6 separate regions of the Homo sapiens genome follow, and all the other regions are linked to region 6. The links are contacts of gene promoters, found by promoter capture Hi-C in blood cells and fetal thymus (Javierre and others, 2016). All regions are on one chromosome and are shown on one strand. Each heading gives the region's core, a stretch centred on a gene start or on the middle of the fragment in contact. The rest is flanking DNA. Distances are from core to core; before and after follow the strand shown. Region 1 overlaps EQTN (equatorin). Region 2 overlaps TEK (TEK receptor tyrosine kinase). Region 3 overlaps MOB3B (MOB kinase activator 3B). Region 4 overlaps MOB3B (MOB kinase activator 3B). Region 5 has its middle 25 kb from the start of EQTN. Region 6 holds the start of PLAA (phospholipase A2 activating protein).

What was found. Contacts are between HindIII fragments. The CHiCAGO score rates a contact against its expected background, and 5 or more counts as called.
Region 1: a fragment that was not itself captured here is called in contact with the fragment with the promoter of PLAA in region 6 in 1 of 17 cell types (endothelial precursors); the score reaches 5.3 in endothelial precursors.
Region 2: a fragment that was not itself captured here is called in contact with the fragment with the promoter of PLAA in region 6 in 1 of 17 cell types (megakaryocytes); the score reaches 5.5 in megakaryocytes.
Region 3: a fragment that was not itself captured here is called in contact with the fragment with the promoter of PLAA in region 6 in 1 of 17 cell types (total B cells); the score reaches 5.5 in total B cells.
Region 4: a contact is called between a fragment that was not itself captured here and the fragment with the promoter of PLAA in region 6, in 1 of 17 cell types (total B cells). The highest score is 5.4, in total B cells.
Region 5: a contact is called between a fragment that was not itself captured here and the fragment with the promoter of PLAA in region 6, in 2 of 17 cell types (megakaryocytes and endothelial precursors). The highest score is 6.9, in megakaryocytes.

What each region holds. Positions count from the first base shown.
Region 1 is chr9:27,287,272-27,289,971 of GRCh38, reverse strand. It overlaps EQTN (equatorin), which reads left to right. Exons shown (of 8, transcript NM_020641.3): 6 at 241-300. Among named protein-coding and RNA genes, the nearest start is that of EQTN, 8.5 kb to the left of the region's middle. The HindIII fragment of the contact is 2,863 bases long and covers 1-2,700 here.
Region 2 is chr9:27,213,259-27,215,958 of GRCh38, reverse strand. It overlaps TEK (TEK receptor tyrosine kinase), which reads right to left. Exons shown (of 23, transcript NM_000459.5): 18 at 2,362-2,475. Among named protein-coding and RNA genes, the nearest start is that of EQTN, 83 kb to the left of the region's middle. The HindIII fragment of the contact is 4,902 bases long and covers 1-2,700 here.
Region 3 is chr9:27,338,922-27,341,621 of GRCh38, reverse strand. The region is part of intron 3 of MOB3B (MOB kinase activator 3B); the gene reads left to right. Among named protein-coding and RNA genes, the nearest start is that of EQTN, 43 kb to the right of the region's middle. The HindIII fragment of the contact is 2,034 bases long and covers 413-2,446 here.
Region 4 is chr9:27,367,555-27,370,254 of GRCh38, reverse strand. All of the region lies in intron 2 of MOB3B (MOB kinase activator 3B), which reads left to right. Among named protein-coding and RNA genes, the nearest start is that of EQTN, 72 kb to the right of the region's middle. RefSeq lists enhancers at 1-420, 421-1,174, 2,692-2,700. The HindIII fragment of the contact is 1,036 bases long and covers 811-1,846 here.
Region 5 is chr9:27,270,905-27,273,604 of GRCh38, reverse strand. It overlaps the pseudogene REXO6P. Among named protein-coding and RNA genes, the nearest start is that of EQTN, 25 kb to the left of the region's middle. The HindIII fragment of the contact is 1,542 bases long and covers 498-2,039 here.
Region 6 is chr9:26,945,936-26,948,635 of GRCh38, reverse strand. It overlaps PLAA (phospholipase A2 activating protein), which reads left to right and starts at 1,394. Exons shown (of 14, transcript NM_001031689.3): 1 at 1,394-1,739. The coding sequence starts at 1,591. It also overlaps a transcript of IFT74 not described here. RefSeq lists enhancers at 1,071-1,380, 970-1,643, 1,641-1,900, 1,644-2,319. The HindIII fragment of the contact is 3,001 bases long and covers 945-2,700 here.

The DNA.
Region 1 (2,700 bases), core at 65-2,564, 340 kb before region 6:
TCAGTTGATGAAAATGCTGTGACCAGACTTGCAGGAATCTAACCCTGTATTTACCCTGGGAGCAACAGTTCAGTATTCGTTAATACAGTGTTTATAAGACTTTATAGAATATAACTGCCACGAATAATGAGAACAGACTGTACACACACTGGGTACTATAATTATACATACACATACATACACAGGCAATAATTTTAGTAAGTGAACGTTGTTTACCATAACCCCAATTTGTTTTAACAGCTATAAATGGAACAGCAGTGGTCATGGATGATAAAGATCAATTATTTCACCCAATTCCAGGTAAGAACAAAATATTTCAATTGACTGGGTGCAGTGGCTAATGCCTATAATCCCAGCACTTTGGGAGGCTGAGGCAGGTGGATCGCTTGAGTCCAGGAGTTCGAGACCAGCCTGGGCAACATGACAAAAACCTTTTCTCTACAAAAAATACAAAAATTAGGTGGGCACGGTGGCATGTCATTGTACTCCAGCCTGAGCGACAGAGTGAGACCCTGTCTCAACAAATGAACCAAAGTACTTCAACTAATAGACACATAAATACTCTTACACATCTTAGTGTCTTTATGATGATAATATTTTTCCTAGTGAAGTCTGGCGTATGAAAGGTGACTAACATCTCAGAGAGGACATTCACTGTTCAGGAGAGTTATAGTTCCCAAGCATTCTTTTTTAGTTATACCTCCCACATGACCATTACCACCTTCCTGTTTTGTAACATTTATTCCTGAAACCAAATGGAGGAGGTGAGTGAATAATATGTAGAATGCAGTCTTTTTTCAAAATAGACTTTATTTTTAGAGCAGTTTTGGGTTTAAAGAAAAATTTGGCAGAACGTACAGAATTTCCATATTTCACCCTCCTCAGTTTCCCCTATGTCTTGCATGATGTGGTACCTTTGTTACAATTTATGAACCAATAATAGTGATTCATTATTAATTGAAGTCCATAATTTACATCAGGATTCACTCTGTATTATACAGGTCTTTGGGTTTTGACAAATGCATAATATCACGTGTCTACCATCCCAGTATCATACGAAAGTTTCACTGCCCTAAAATCTCCTCTGCCCCATCAATTCATCCCTTTGTTCCTCTCTCCTCCTGAACCCCTGAAAACCACTGATCTTTTTACTATCGCTATAGTTTTGCCTTTTCTAGAATGTCATATAGTTGGAGTCATACAGTATGTAACCTTTTCAGACTAGCTTCTTTCACTCAGCAATATGCATTTAAGATTCCTCCATGTTTTCTTGTGGCTTGAGAGCTCATTTATTTTTATTACTGATATTCCATTGTATGAATGCACCCTAGTTCATTCTTCTACTGAATGACATCTTGGTTGCCTCCAATTTTTGGCAATTATGAAAAAAGCTATTGTAAACACTTGTGTGCAGGGTTTTGTGTGTACATAAGTTTTCGACTCATTTTGGTAAATACCTATGAATATGATTTCTGGATCATATGGTAAGAGTATGTTCATGTGCAGTGGGTGGCTTGCCTGTAATCCTAGCACTTTGGGAGGGCAAGGTGGGAAGATGAGAGTGGTTATCTTTGTAAGAAACTACCAAACTATCTTCCAAAGTATTTTTGGAATTCTCACCAGCAATCAATGTGAGCTCCTGTTGCTGGATAGAGTTTTCCTTAATGGCTTAATTATACTAATAGAGGTAAAACTCCTAATTTGAATGGAAAATTTCATGAAAGAACCACATTAATTTCCCCAAAAAAAACCTCTGTCCTACAAATAAATGGTTGAAAAATAGCATGATGATATATCTAAGACCTGTCCCCTCATTTGTGCACTGGATTGATAAGTGTGGCCATTTGCCTTGTGGCGCTTCAAGAAAATTGAGTCATTTGTCTGGGTACTGTAATCCCAGCACTTTGGGAGGCTGAGGCAGGCAGATCACCTGAGGTCAGGAGTTCGAGACAAGCCTGGCCAACATGGTGAAACCCCGTCTCTGTTAAAAATACCAAAAAATTAGCCAGGCGTGGTGTTGGGTACCTGTAATCCCAGCTACTCAGGAGGCTGAGGCAAGAGAATCACTTGAACCCGGGAGGCAGAGGTTGCAGTGAGCTAAGATTGTGCCACTGCACACTGCACTCTAGCCTGGGTGACAGAGCAAGACTCCATCTCAAAAAAAGAAAAGAAAAGAAAATTGAGTGATCCTTCTTTGTTTAGAAAAGTTATAAACAGGAATGACAAATGCTGGCTCATTTTATAAATACTGTGTCATTTCTCCTATTTAATATTTAAGTGATTAAATTCAGCTTGACTGATTTTATTGTTTATTGAGCACATACTACGTGTTAGGTGTTGTAGATACATTATTATGTTAGTCTTCACAGCAACTCCATGAAGTTGGTATTATCTTCATTTTACAGTTGAGAAAACTGAGGCTTAGAGAGAAAAGCTGCCCACGCTTGTAACTAGCTTTTCTGTCACTTCCAGTGATTACGAATTCCAAACCCTTCTCTAGTTCTGACCATCACCTAGATAAAGAAGATGTACTATGAGCACACATCTTTATTAAAAACCCTTTCAGGAGACAGAAAAGCAATTCAGGAGCACAGCCCATTTTAACGTAATTTGTTTAATTATTCCCAAAATAACAGGCCTCGAAGCATTAAAAGAGTCATTGACAACTGTATACATTTTCATAGTCTAAGGTCACACACT
Region 2 (2,700 bases), core at 172-2,671, 270 kb before region 6:
ATCCAACTTATTCTCACATCCTCACTGCCTATCTAACATTTACTATGAAACTCAGGATTTGACCTCCTCCAGGAAGCCCTCCTTAACTTCCTTTCAGCTTGGTTCAGTGCACCTTCTTTGTGTTCCCGTAGCATCTATGCTTTCCTTGCTCTTTGCATTTATCAGCTGTTACAATCCTGAGTCATATGTCTACGAGCTCTTTGAAGGTGGAGACTGTGTCTGACTTATGTTACCCCAAAATCTAGCACAAGCATGAAACATTGTACTAACAAATCCATGATGACGGGATGGATATATTAATCTATGATAGTGAAACCCCAAATTGCTTAGTATAGTAGTTTGCAGTAATACTTCCAGTATTAAAATCACCCTGGGTAACTTAAAAAAAAAAAAAAAAACCCTAATGCAGGGTTCTCACCCTAGACCAATTGAATCAGAATATCCACAGGATAGGACTCAATCATCTGGGGATCTTTAAAAAATGCAGATGCTTTGAAGTACAATGAGAATTGAAAATCTGATTTTAAAATTGGCTGCCAGAGAAGGTAGCCACTGTGTTCTCTAGGAGTGTCTTGCCACACTGCACCTTTCTTGCAGGGAACTTGCTCCTCTCCAATCCTTCTTTCTTCCCCCTTCCCTCAAACCTGGCCCTTTCCTCCCCAGCCCCAAGGTGCTAAAGAACACCTTTACCCTGTTTAGTCTATTGTAAGATAGAGTTGAGACCTGATAGGTGCTCTCCCCCTGTAAATAACCCCAATATTGCAGAAATCACTGCCCTTTATGAAATGCCAAGCAAACCAGTGCTAGTCTTGGGAGGCTGAGGAGAGCATCCAAATAGAATGGGTAGATTGTGGAGTTATCCTGTGTTATCCCTCCACCTTCTCACCCAGGGTACCCACATCCCCCAAGTGCTGGAGTAAAGCAGGGAAAAGGATTTCAGGAAGGAGATTTGAGGACACCAGGTGGTGAGGGAGGAGTTGGGAAAGCTGGAGTAGGTAGGTGAGTGATGGATTCTGCTTCTTTAAGAAAACAAGCCCACCCCTGCTCCAGAGAAGCATCTGCTTTGAGTATGCCTGAAAAGGTTAGGGAGAAAAGCATCACCTGGAAGCCAGCCCTCAGGGAGGCACACATGGCTTCTGAAAGTGTTGATGTTGATAAGCATGCAGGGCCCTCGAAGAGCCAAAGGGACCCAGCTTCACACCCTCATCAGAAAGGAGAGTGGAAAGATCCAAAATGATTACGTTCACTGTGGTTGTAGCTATGTAAAAGGATGTATGCTGTGAAAGGCAATAAGCCAAAATGAAAAAAATATATATGCCAAGGTGGTGAATTATGGGTGATTTCCTTTCAAAATGTTCTTGAGTATTGTTTTACTTTATCTTCTCAGTAACTAAAATAAGTATGATGGGAAAAAAAGAAGCCTGGAATTGAGAATAAATGCCGGAACCTGAGCCTTGCTAAGAGACAATTTGGTGTGCCCACAAAAGCAAAAAGATTGTCTATATCTTATGACAACTGGAGCCATCCCAGGAAAGCTGGGACCAAGTAATGTTCATCAGACCTAAAAAAGGGAGAGCCATCCACCAGAGTAGATCTGCCAGACACATGGAAAGGCTGCAGGGCTTGTCATCCCTAAGGCCCCTGCATTCTGCCCACCCAAGGAAAAGAGAGGATGGTGACATTTCATCCACACAGCTGTAACATGCAGGGATGCGGTACTTCTAGGACTATGTGATTCTAGACTGGGCACCAAAAGCAGAATGAGTATCTCTCTTCCTCTAAGACTGTATGGTTAGGTTCTCCTGCAATCTTGTACTTAAAGATAAAATATTACTGTTTGGGAGAGTGGATTTTATTTGGGTTTGAATAGTGACCATTGAGGTTTCAGTGAAGAGAGAAATCTTAGATGAGCCTGTAGAAGTTATGAATTTCTCTGTAGAGCCTCCTGGTGATTTAGAAACCATTTAGTTTGTCTTCTTGACTTTTGGAAAATATGTTAATTTTTTTCCTTGCTGTGTCAGCTGTGCATGAAAGGGGATTGTGCAAGCTCCTCAGAGGTTCCTGAGTGAGATGCCTTGGGGTCTGGACTGGATAGAACCAAGACCCCAAACCACTAGGTTTGAACATTCAATCACTTGGTCACACATGACAGTGCCTTCTTCATTATTAATTAATGCAGATGCTGCAATCATGTTAGGAACCAACATTTAGAAAGAATGTTTCCCAGGGCACACAGTATCTACTGGGACATACAGTCAGATGCTTCAGTCACCACAGAGCACTGACAGTCTCAGAAGCAACATCAGGAGACAGGGGAGTACCTCGGAAAGGATGCGATCAGTGTCTGTGTCTGGCACTTACCATTGTCTTTTTCACATACACCTCTTGACCTCGGGACAATCCAAAATCTGCTATTTTTGCCACATAGTTTTCACCAACTAAAATGTTTCTGGCAGCCAGATCCCTGTGGATAAACTGAAATTTTTGAAAACATTATGTATTTTCAGCCTAATGAAAGCCCCAGGGCTGAAAACTTTGGGGAACAGGAAAGAAAACAATAGTATAAAAAAGGATTTTAAACAGTCACAATCCAGTTCCCTTAAAGTTCCCCTCCAAAATTCCCTGGTAATGGATTCTGCCAAATGACACACCACATCTTGGCAGAAGAATTTCAGAAAACGAACAAATAAAAAACACAGG
Region 3 (2,700 bases), core at 180-2,679, 390 kb before region 6:
GTTTCAATAGGTGGTAGTCAAACTTCTAGCAAGAGATCTCATTGTATTAAAAGGAAAATTTTAGTTTTGTTTCATGTCTATTTACTCCATCAAAATAACACTTTGTTCCTACCAAAGGAGTGAGACTGCTTAGAAACTACAGACTTCCTAAATTACAGGCTCACTGAGGAAGCACATTCCCCATATGTTTTCATCAGACACACAATAGAGGTCTTATTAAGCAATGGCAAGCTCTGTCCTGTGGTGAATTCAGCTAGGCTGAACGGCTTCTATGGAATCCTTTGTTTTCCCAGGGGAGGTAAATTCTTCCTTTAGGGACCCATGCTCTGAAAGTTCAGAATACTCCCTCCAAAAGGACAAACCGTTTGTTCAGCGTTTCTTGCATGTCATTAAGAGTTGCCCCCATTAAGCTTCTGTCAGAATAAATAAAACTCTGGTGCCTGCAACCTAACCTGGAGTTTCCGGTACTCTCTGCTTCACCGGCCAGTGCCTTCCCTCCCACTCCTGATAGAAAGGCCACATGACAGAAGCAAATGTGAGAATTCCTTCCCCTGCCCTCCCGCATCCAGCCTTTAAGGAACTGCACAACCCTACAGGGGGCATTGGGCCATGCTGAAATCTGTTTCATTCCTCAAAGCGGGTGGGTGCACTCAGTCACCCTTTGCTCATCCCAGAACAAGGGGCAGCAGCAGCATCTGCCAGAAACCAATCCAGCTGCGCTGACAAATGCTGGGTATGAGAAGGAGGGAGGCAGACTCCTGCCAACTGTGCAGACCTCCATGGGGGCTCTGGAGAAGTTGGGTAACAGAGGAGGAAAGGAGCGGGGAGCAGCAGCCAAATGTCAGAGATCTCAGTGTCGCTTTGAGCAGAAATCACAGGCTCCTTTGATCACAGGTAGCATCAGTCTGAGCAGAAATCAGGTTGGATCCCCTGTCCCATCAGTGCATCAGCCAGGTTGATACAGGTGGGAAGGACATGGTAGGTGGATCCACAGAGCAAGACAGGGTGCTAAAAAAAAAGCACAGAGTTGCAGAATGAGGGGTGGGCTGCGGGGCTCTAGGGAGGGGATCTGCAGAGATACAGTGACCACAAACAGTTTTGATTAATGCTCTTGCTTTCACGATGCACTATGAGGCAACCCACCATGTGTCCGTAACCCATCTCCTGTGGTTAAATGAGAGAACTTCAAAAATGTGCAGCTCTGTCTTTATAAGAAACAATGTAAATCAGGAGGCTGAATATGTTTACATAAAGTGACTTATTTTTAATGTTTGCAGGGTTTGGAAAAAGAAGAGCAGTTTGATTTTTGTATCGGTATGAATAAATATTCTCCGTGGGTGGCGAGTGTGTGTGTTTATCTAGCCATACATATGTATATGTGCACTTGGGAGCCTGCACATATGTGCACACATTCACACACACGCACCCCTCCATCGTGGAAACGCCCTCCGTGTCAGTAATGTGGGCTGTTGTTTAGGAACAGAATTAATCAAATAAATATTGTTCTGTGTGGTTTAGGGAAGTCTGGCCTGCCTTGTTTCTATTTTTATTTCGTTTGGCTTATTTGCCACCCACATTCCTAAAAGAGAGCAGAAAGAACATTTCTAATTCCTGTGTGCTGGTTGGATCCTGTATATACTTAGAGTTGGGGAAATTTTAAAAATATTTTTGTAGACTGGCTGCCCTGCCTGCTTTATAAGAATTCAGACTTTGGGATGCTAGCAAAGGAAGAACAGCAGCCCTGGCTGTGGGCCTCCTGGGAACGGTCCTGCCAGCCGAGTCCCTACTCCCGTGGCCCATGCTGGTGTGGTACAGCCGCTGATTCAGAGACTCAACTGAAACAGCACATGTAGATATGAATGAAGATATATTCAGCACGATGGCTCAGGATATAGTAGACTGGTTAGGAGGATGGGTTTTCAAGTTTCAACCTTGGCCAGGGTAATTATTAGTGATGTGGCCATGGCCGAGGTACTTAACCTCCATTACCCCTCTGTAAAATAAGAATGATACCACATACCCCATAAGACTGATGTAAGGATTGAATGAAATGATGTCCAGCATTGAGCACAGTGCCTGGCACACAGAAAAGGTGCAGGAAATGATAGAAACTACTCCATTCGGAACACAAGACACTTTGGTTAATGATGGCTCTCTTATCACTGCCCCATCTTGTTCACTCTGACTCTTGTGACCTGGCACGGCTTCATTCATTCATTCGTTCACTTCTCAAGTTATTTATACCAATAAAGCCTAGTTCCAAAATAAATTTGGGGTGGCTGATGTCAGCCCCTACTGGAATTCTCTCTCCCAGATGCTCTGAAACAGACACAACAACGTTACAAAAAAATAGTTCCTAAAAAAATGTTTAGGCCTCATGCCTGAACCTCGCCTAAGGATTCCACCATTGACTCCTGGTCCCTTTACCCTCCTCTGAAAACAAGCTTCCAGGCAGGAAGCTCCACCAGCTTGACCACTGCAGAAAAGGCCTTGAGGGCAAGAACGAAGTCCCCTGAGCCTAGGGGGAGTGCATGGCAGGGAGACTCTCCCCGAGGGTTCCCAGGGATCCCTAACTTGCAGCACTCCCTCCACAGCCTCACACAAACAGCTGGGAATGGTCCGGGAAAGCAGATTAAGCAGCCCTGGACTCACCCTCACTCTGCACCAAGGATGCAACTGAGGGCTCCTTAGAAAGTCATG
Region 4 (2,700 bases), core at 79-2,578, 420 kb before region 6:
TTACAGGCCTGAGCGACCGCGCCCAGCCAGGACCCTCCTTTTTAAAGGCACTAATCCCATTCATGGGGTGTCTGCCTTCATGACCTAATCACCTCCCAAAGGCCCCACCTCCTAGTACCATCAGCCTGGGAATTAGGATTTCAACACGTGCATTTGAGGGGGGCATAAGCATTCAATCCGTTGCATTCAATAATTACATATGGAGAACCACCGTGTTCTGCTATGCATTCGATGCCAGGGCTATGACTATGAACAAGAAAGATCCCTGACATTACACAATTTTCAGTCTCCTGGGAGACAAAAAAAAAAAAAAAAAAAGGACAATTAAAAGTTGATGTGGTAGTATTGTCATGGAAGAAGCAGCGGGTGTTATGATATGCCTACCTAGACTGAGGGTGAGGTGGCCAGGGAGGACGTTCTAGAGGAAGTGACAAATTAGTTAAGGTTTGAATAACAAATGGGAGTTAGTCAGGCGAAATGGAGAAGCTGAGGAAGAGGTTTCCAGCTACCAACCCTCCAGTATGTAGCAACGCCCAGAAGCAAGTGAGAAAGAGGATCGTAGCTTCAGATGGCTGGAGTATTACATGCAAGTTGGGAGAATCCAGAAATGATGGTGGACCACTGCATGTGTGAAATCATAAAGGGTCTTGCCTGCATGTTAAATAGCTTTGATTTCACCTTGGAAGCAGTAGGAGGCTGCTTTAGAGTTTTATGCAGAAAAACAGGCTTCCTGGTTAGATTTGCGTATTGGGAAGGTCCTTCACCTGCCAAGTGGAGATTGAAGAAATGCAGGAGTAAAGAAAGGAAGCTTAGTTACAAGGGACCTGCATAAACTAGGCAGGAGGTGAGCTAGGAAGGAGGCAGTGGGGCTGAAGAGAAATTTAGAGATCAGCAACTGTTCAAGACAAGACTTGGTGTTAATTGTCCCCACATAATGGAAGAAAGATTCTACTGGGGAATAAAGAATAGTTTTATTTGTGAGGATACTCACAATATTACATCCATGACAAAGAACCTGGCTTTCAAATTCTGGTTGGGGCTCATGAAAAAAACCAGAAGGTGTGGTAGTCCTAGACCTATATTCCTGATCAAACTCCTGGTACCTCAGCCTGACTTTCCAGAACCAATGAAGTTCATTAACATCCTGTTCTCAGCTCTGGCTCATTTGTCCCATTTGATTTTCAGCAAACTGGTCAGGTTTACACGGTCTAGGGTTTGTTTCTAATGGCTTTTATTGTCAATCCACAGTGAATATCTTTCACGGGTTATCTTGGGTCTTTCTTAATCTACTGCTCCTTTCACATCCATGCTGTGAAAGCAGGGGACAAAGGCAGCCATCTGGGAGCTGGGGATGCTGATGAGCAACTCAGAAGTGGCGCTCAGGGGTAGGAGGAGGTGTGACGAGCAGGCACGCTGGACTCATGGTTGCTCCTTGGGGTGGCTGAAACAGCACTTCCTATGCCCAGCACATGGCATGTCTGAAAGAATTAAGACTCTCTTGAGAACATATAATCACATACCACTGTTTGTCTTTCTTTTGGCCCAACCACCATGATAACAGACTGGAGGACAGCACAAAGGGGCTGGGGAGGGGCAGAGGGAGGGAGTTGGAAAACAGAGTAGTAGCCAGTTTATTTCTAAGCATTTGCAGCTGTCAGCTTGTTTGGGGACTTTGTTTTCTCTTTTTTTAGGCAGAGGAACAAAGTCCTGCTACACAGGATTGTTTTCCTTGGCATGACGAACAGACACTTTCTTGAGGAACGTACTGAGATAACACAAAACATCTGCTAAGAGGAATCAATCCTCGCAGCTGAATTTTCATCAGCATCAGCAAGAACACGAAGCTTCTCTCTCTCTCCCTCTCTGTATGTGTGTGTGTGTGTGTGTGTGTGTGTGTGTGTATGTATGTGTGTGTATATATATGTATATGTATGTATATATATAGACAGAGAGCAGGAGGCAGGAGAATGGATGGATGAAGGGGCAAGAGAATAAGCTAAGAGGAGGAGGATATATATTATTAAGAAACATCTGTGTTGTTCATGTGTTTTGTTTTGTTTTGTTTTGTTTTTGCCTTGTGATCCGATTGCATCTTGTTTTGCAAGTATTTTGGAAATGGTGTGTTCTCAGCCACGCTGCCAGAGGAGGTATGTTTTCTTTTTCCACGTGTGTGGGATGTTGTTTTTATTCATGAACTATTGAGAATGAGTGGTTTTTATGACTTGTAGAGGGATTTTCACATCCCTCTTATTACTGGACTCTGAAGACAGAAGGGACAGCACAAATGCCCTCAGACATGAATAACAGTTTCAAGGAGAAACATGGGCACTTCTGGTTGTTGTTGACATGCCATCAGGGGTCCCAAAGGATTGGCCAGGAAATCAGGTTTCATCATATGTCCTTTGGAAGCTCCTTGGACAGTTCACATGCTCTTCCAATATATGACATGTCTTCCAAGTATACTTTCCAAGAAGAGTTTATCCTTTGGAGAAGAGGCAGCTTCACCTGTCCTGTTTCATTTGCCCTCCTGCCACCCCTGTCTTGGCATTGATTCAGAAGAGCCGTCTTCCTAGCGTTGGTAACATCGGCTGCCATTTGCCAGATGCCTTCTGTGTGCCTGCTGGTGCTGTGCTTCTCATTTAGTCCTTGTGGTCTCATGAAGAGCTAGGTATTATTATCACCATTCCTCAGACAAGAAAA
Region 5 (2,700 bases), core at 19-2,518, 330 kb before region 6:
CCAGTCAATACTTTGTTTATCTCTAAATGATACACAATAGTAGTACTATTTTGCAAGTATTTTACAATTGTTTTATCAATTATCTCAATTCATTCTTCTGAATTATACTGGAGTGGGTTATTGGGATTTTTTTGCATTTGAATGTTGTTTTCTTCCAGGTTGCATGTTTCAAACCTATAAAGGAAGTGTTGTGAAATTTTGAATTAATGATTAAACTCTAATCATCTGAGGTTAATGTCATTAAAATTTATCTTTTCTTTTCCTTGTTCATGAAAACTTCTTAGAATATTCACTCACAATGGACCTTCATCTGAATGTAGTTCTTTCAAGAGAAAACCCAACTGCAAAACCAACCAAATCGTTCATTCCTGTCAAAAGTATTGCTTCTCTTTCTGTTTAGGTATTATAAACTAAGTCTGAACACCAGAATTATATTTCATCATATCCTGCTTACATATAGAGTCCCTGGAAGAGTGGCTATATTTTTTTCTGAAGCTTTCAAATTCAGATAAATGCCAGACCCAATAGAGAAAAATGTCAACATTTTTTAGCTTACCGATGAATATAGTTATTTTCATTATGATGTAATTTGTGTCACTCTTAGATGTTTTGTTGATTCTATCCTTGGAAATAGTAGGCATTGTTTTAGACTTAAAACATCTATGGCTATGGTTAATTGAAACCTACTCAACATTTTTTAAAAGGAAAGTTTCAAGCTGTGTCCAGTGAGGGTGTATATTTGTTTATGTATATGAGACAGAGACAGCTCTTTACTAAATAATGCCATCAGTGATATGATGTTGTAGCCTTCTTTAAGTAATTCTTATTCTACTTGTGGCAGTGATTTTCCTCCCCTGTTTTCCAATTATTTTGTAGCAGAAAACCACCTGGCAGTTTTAAGGTTTTCTCCATCCCTAAAATGTCTTTGTATTACATGCAAACAATTACTGAGAAGTATGATGTTGGCTTGGTTTTATTTTTCCTCAAAGGTGAAGCAGATTAACTGATTTTAAAGTTCTCTGGGTCTTTTTATAAGTCCTTCAGAAGAAATGCTAAGAGTTTATAGCTGGGATCACTTTAATATTAAGTATACTCAAGTCACTCAGAAATTTTAAGTCCAAGCATTTTTCTTAATGATGTGCTATCAGAAAGACATTGGGATACATAGTTGAAGGATGGCAACCTACAAACTTTGCTATATTTGAATCAGAGGAGCAAATCCCAGCTTTAGGAATCTGGTTGTGGAACAGTAGTACAATTAGATGAGTGATCAGCTATCATTGCGTACGTGCAGGTAGCAGCACAGATGTGGCAGTCTCACTTCTCCATTTTGTGAGTTTAAGTAATTTTATACTTTGTGTTTATTCTACCTCTTCAACTTGACACTTGAAATTACTTTTCAATTTAATTTTGATATAACTGACCTAAGGTAGTTTTACTTCTTCCATATACTCAGTAGGAATATTAAACAGAAACATGTCTTCTTTTCTCTAATAACACTTTTATTTTTAACAAGAGGCCAAAAGATACATTTAACAAGATGGCTCATCGGAAAAGACATTCAGTAACATCAGAATTCTTATCCAAAGTACCTGATGAAGTAAGACAACGCTACATCAACCTCTTTGTTGAGAAGTATTTGAAAGTTTGTAAAACAGAGGATGAGGCTGTTTACAAGGTTGGTATTATATAATGTAATTTATCTGAAGACACACACAAAATTATTACATTGAATAAAAAACTCATGGAGCACAACTAGCAAATAACTTTATTCATTTTCTCTTCATTACATTTTCAAAACCAGGCCATGGGACTGGTTCAGTTCCTTCTTCCCTCTTGGATGACTTTTATGGTCTTTTTCAGTTACCAAAAGTCCCCTGGTTACTTCTAGGGGGTCTGGGCAGGGTGAGGACTGTCTGCTAGCTCCATCCTCTGCACAGGGGAGCCCCATGGCTCAGAAAACCTAACAAAGGAAACATGGGTACAGCAGTGGTAATAAGGGGCATGCTTGTCTTATTCCTGATCCTAGGGGGAAAGCTTTAAGTCTTTCTTCATTAAGTACAATGATAACTATGGGGTTTTTACATATAACCTTTATTAAGTTGAGACAATTCCTTTCCATTCCTAGTTTGTTGAGTGCCTCATTGTGTTAGATTTTGTTAAATGCTTTTTTCTTCATCTATTGAGCTGTCACACAGGTTTTATCCTTTATTCTATTAATATGATACATTGCATTGACTTTCTGTGTTAAACCTTACATTTATTTGATAGGTGTTCTTGGTCATGGCATATAATCTTTTTTTATACGTTGCTAGGTTACATTTCCTAGTATTCCATTGAGGATTTTTGTGTCTATATTTATCACAGATATTGTTCTGTAGCGTTTTTTGTTAGTGTCAATGACTTTTTAAAATTGCTATAAAATACACGTAACATAAAATTACCATTCTAACCATTTAAGTGTACAATTCAGTGGTATGATGTGTATTCACAATGTTATGAAACTATCACTACTATCCATTTCCAGAGCTTTTTTATCATTTCAAACAGAAATTCTGTACTCATTAAATAACTCCCCATTCCTCTCTCCTTTCAGTCTCTGGTAATCTCTATTCTACTTTATGTTTCCATGAATTTTCTTTTCTTTTCTTTTTTTTTTTTCTTTTTTTGACAGAGTCTCACTTTGTCACCAGGCTGGAG
Region 6 (2,700 bases), core at 145-2,644:
ATTTAGCTGGGCATGGTGGCGCGCTCCTGTAGTCCCAGCTACTCGGGAGGCTGAGGCAGGAATCGCTTGAACCCGGGAGGCGAGGGTTGCAGTGAGCCGAGATCGCGCCACTGCACTCAGCCTGGCAGCAGAGCGACACTCCGTCTCAAAAAAAAAAAAAAAAAAAAAAAAAAAAAAAAAAAAAAAATAATGGAAAGCCATCACAGGTTGTCAAACAGAGAAAAAACAATTAAGTGTATATTTCAGAAAGATAATTATATTTTAATGTGTAGGATTGGCTGGAGAGAAGGGGTAGAAAGGCCAGAGAAATGTTGAAATAATTTAAGTAGGACTAATTGGTACAGATTTCTAACAGATAGCTAGAAATACAGATCTAGAGTTTGGAGAAGACAATATGGGAATACAGCTCTAGAAATAAGCCAAGTAGTAAATAATCCACCCAGGGAGGGGATATGATAGCAAAGAAGTATCAAAAGTCAGCATTTCAAGAATGATCTCCCAAACCAGGGGAAAAGTGATTCCAAACCTAGAGTAGGAGTTTTAGGAAGGGAGAAGTCAGAAAAGTGTGAATTGGGCTTAGCAATTTAGAAAGGTTTGTGGAAAAGTGTAGTTGGATGCGAGAGAATAGCGGATGGGAAGAAAACAAAGTAAGGAGACAGGTCATGTTTACCCTGGCACTCAATAAGGTCTGATAATGACTAGCAAGTAGCACCACGGGTGGGTGGGCGGCGGGGTTGTTAAAAATACGTATCTCAGCTCTAACTCAGACCTACTGAATCAGAATCTACATTTTAACAAGCCGCCAGAGAAAAGTAGTTATACCTTTAAAAAATTGACTTGGACCACCGTATTTGCTAAATTTGACAACAGAGAGTAGGAGATTCAGATAACTTGAAACGGAGGAATAGTTCAATGATTAATAGTTCCCAATTTGGCCTCAAGCTTTCTCGTTTTAATTGAAAAACAAGGTTAACTTGCAAAAACCTCGAGATTCTCAGGGAAAAGCAGTGAGGATGACCTAACAGTAGACACCAAACAACCTCACTCAGCCATTCCGCCATGCCCAGCGCGAAAGACTCAGGTTTAAAATATCCGGATTCGGCGCGCCGGATGTCCACGCCAGCTGGCGCGGCATTATGGGAATTGTAGTCCCGGCCCGCTTCCCGATTTACCACAAACTGTTGGGCCCGGAGTCGGAAGAGACCCGGGTTTGGGAAGGACCCCAGGGTCAGGCGTCCTGGTGGAAGGGCGGGCCTCTTTCTCTCTTGCTCAGCAGGGAGTCCAGAGCCCTGGAGGAAAGCCAGCTCAGCTCCGCATCGGCGTCGGCGGTTGGGACGCACACACTCTGCGTCATGGAGGGCTGAGGCCGATGATGAATTCCGGAGTGCCTGTCAGGCTTGCTGTGTCACTCGGCCCGCTCGGCGCGCCCCTTCCCAGCCGCCCTTCCGTACCGGCTCTCGGGCTCTTCCGGTCTCCGGCCGCCCCTTACCTGCAGGCTCTTCTCCCGCCGCGGCCCGGCGCTCTCCGAGTCGCCCCTGCGGACTGGTCTCGCACAGTGCCTGGGCACCGGGCGCCAGACAGACACTGGCCATGACGAGCGGCGCAACCAGGTACCGGCTGAGCTGCTCGCTCCGGGGCCACGAGCTGGACGTACGGGGCCTGGTGTGCTGCGCCTATCCGCCGGGAGCCTTTGTGTCCGTGTCCCGAGACCGCACCACCCGCCTCTGGGCCCCAGACAGGTGAGCGCTGGGAGTCGGGTTGCCCCGGCTGTGTTGCACGCTTCCCGGAGAGTGGAAGGAGAGTGACCCTTCCCTGTCAGTCCTGCCGTCTCTCTCTCCCCCCAGCCTTCCCTCTGCTCTCCGCTCCCTTCCAATTCTCAGACTATTAGAACTCTGTAAGAAACCATCGGGATTTAAGTGGAAAGAGCACAGGGTTGGGGGACCAAAGACCTGCCTTGTTGTGCTAACTTGACCACAGACGAGTCTCCTACCTTTTGGGCCTTCAGTTTTTGGACGATGATCTCCCAAGTTTCTTTTAGACTTGAAAATTTACTGATTGCAGTTGCACCCTCCGAAGTGAGGTAGTTTGAAGGCATCTGAAATGTCCTCTTTTTTTTTTTTTTTCGAAGAAGATGCTCTGTAGTCTTCTGTAAAATTTAATTTTTGAAGACTTTAGTTCTCAAAAATTGCACTGGTGAATCCTCTTTTCGTCCAGGTTAGAATTTTAGTCTGTGGTCTGTGCTGGTCCTGAGGGAGTGAAACCTCTCGGATGTTTTGTTTCTGTGCATGTGCTGTTTCTTGAGGAGAAGCAGCATCCATTGCCTTCAAAGGATTTATCAGAAGGGTTCACGAACCAAAAAAAAAAAGAAGAAAAAGGTTAGGAATCAGTCCTGATCGAGTTCACGGGTTCAGCCCTGATTTGGCTGGTTGTAACAGGATATTTAAGACCTAGAAGACAGATTGCAGTTCAGAGAAAGAAAAATTGAGGTTAGTTATTTTGTTATTTAGTAGGTCTCCCACTGCTAGAGATTTTAGAATTTGAGTCACCATCCATAAATTCAGTTGATAACTGTTGAGTGCCTCCTCTTTGTTTGGGATACTGGAGAGGAATAAAGACAGACAAGTTGCCAGTGTTTCTGGAGCTTTCTTACAGTCTGATGGGGAAGATAGATTAAAAAACAAGCCAATAAATAATTAAAAA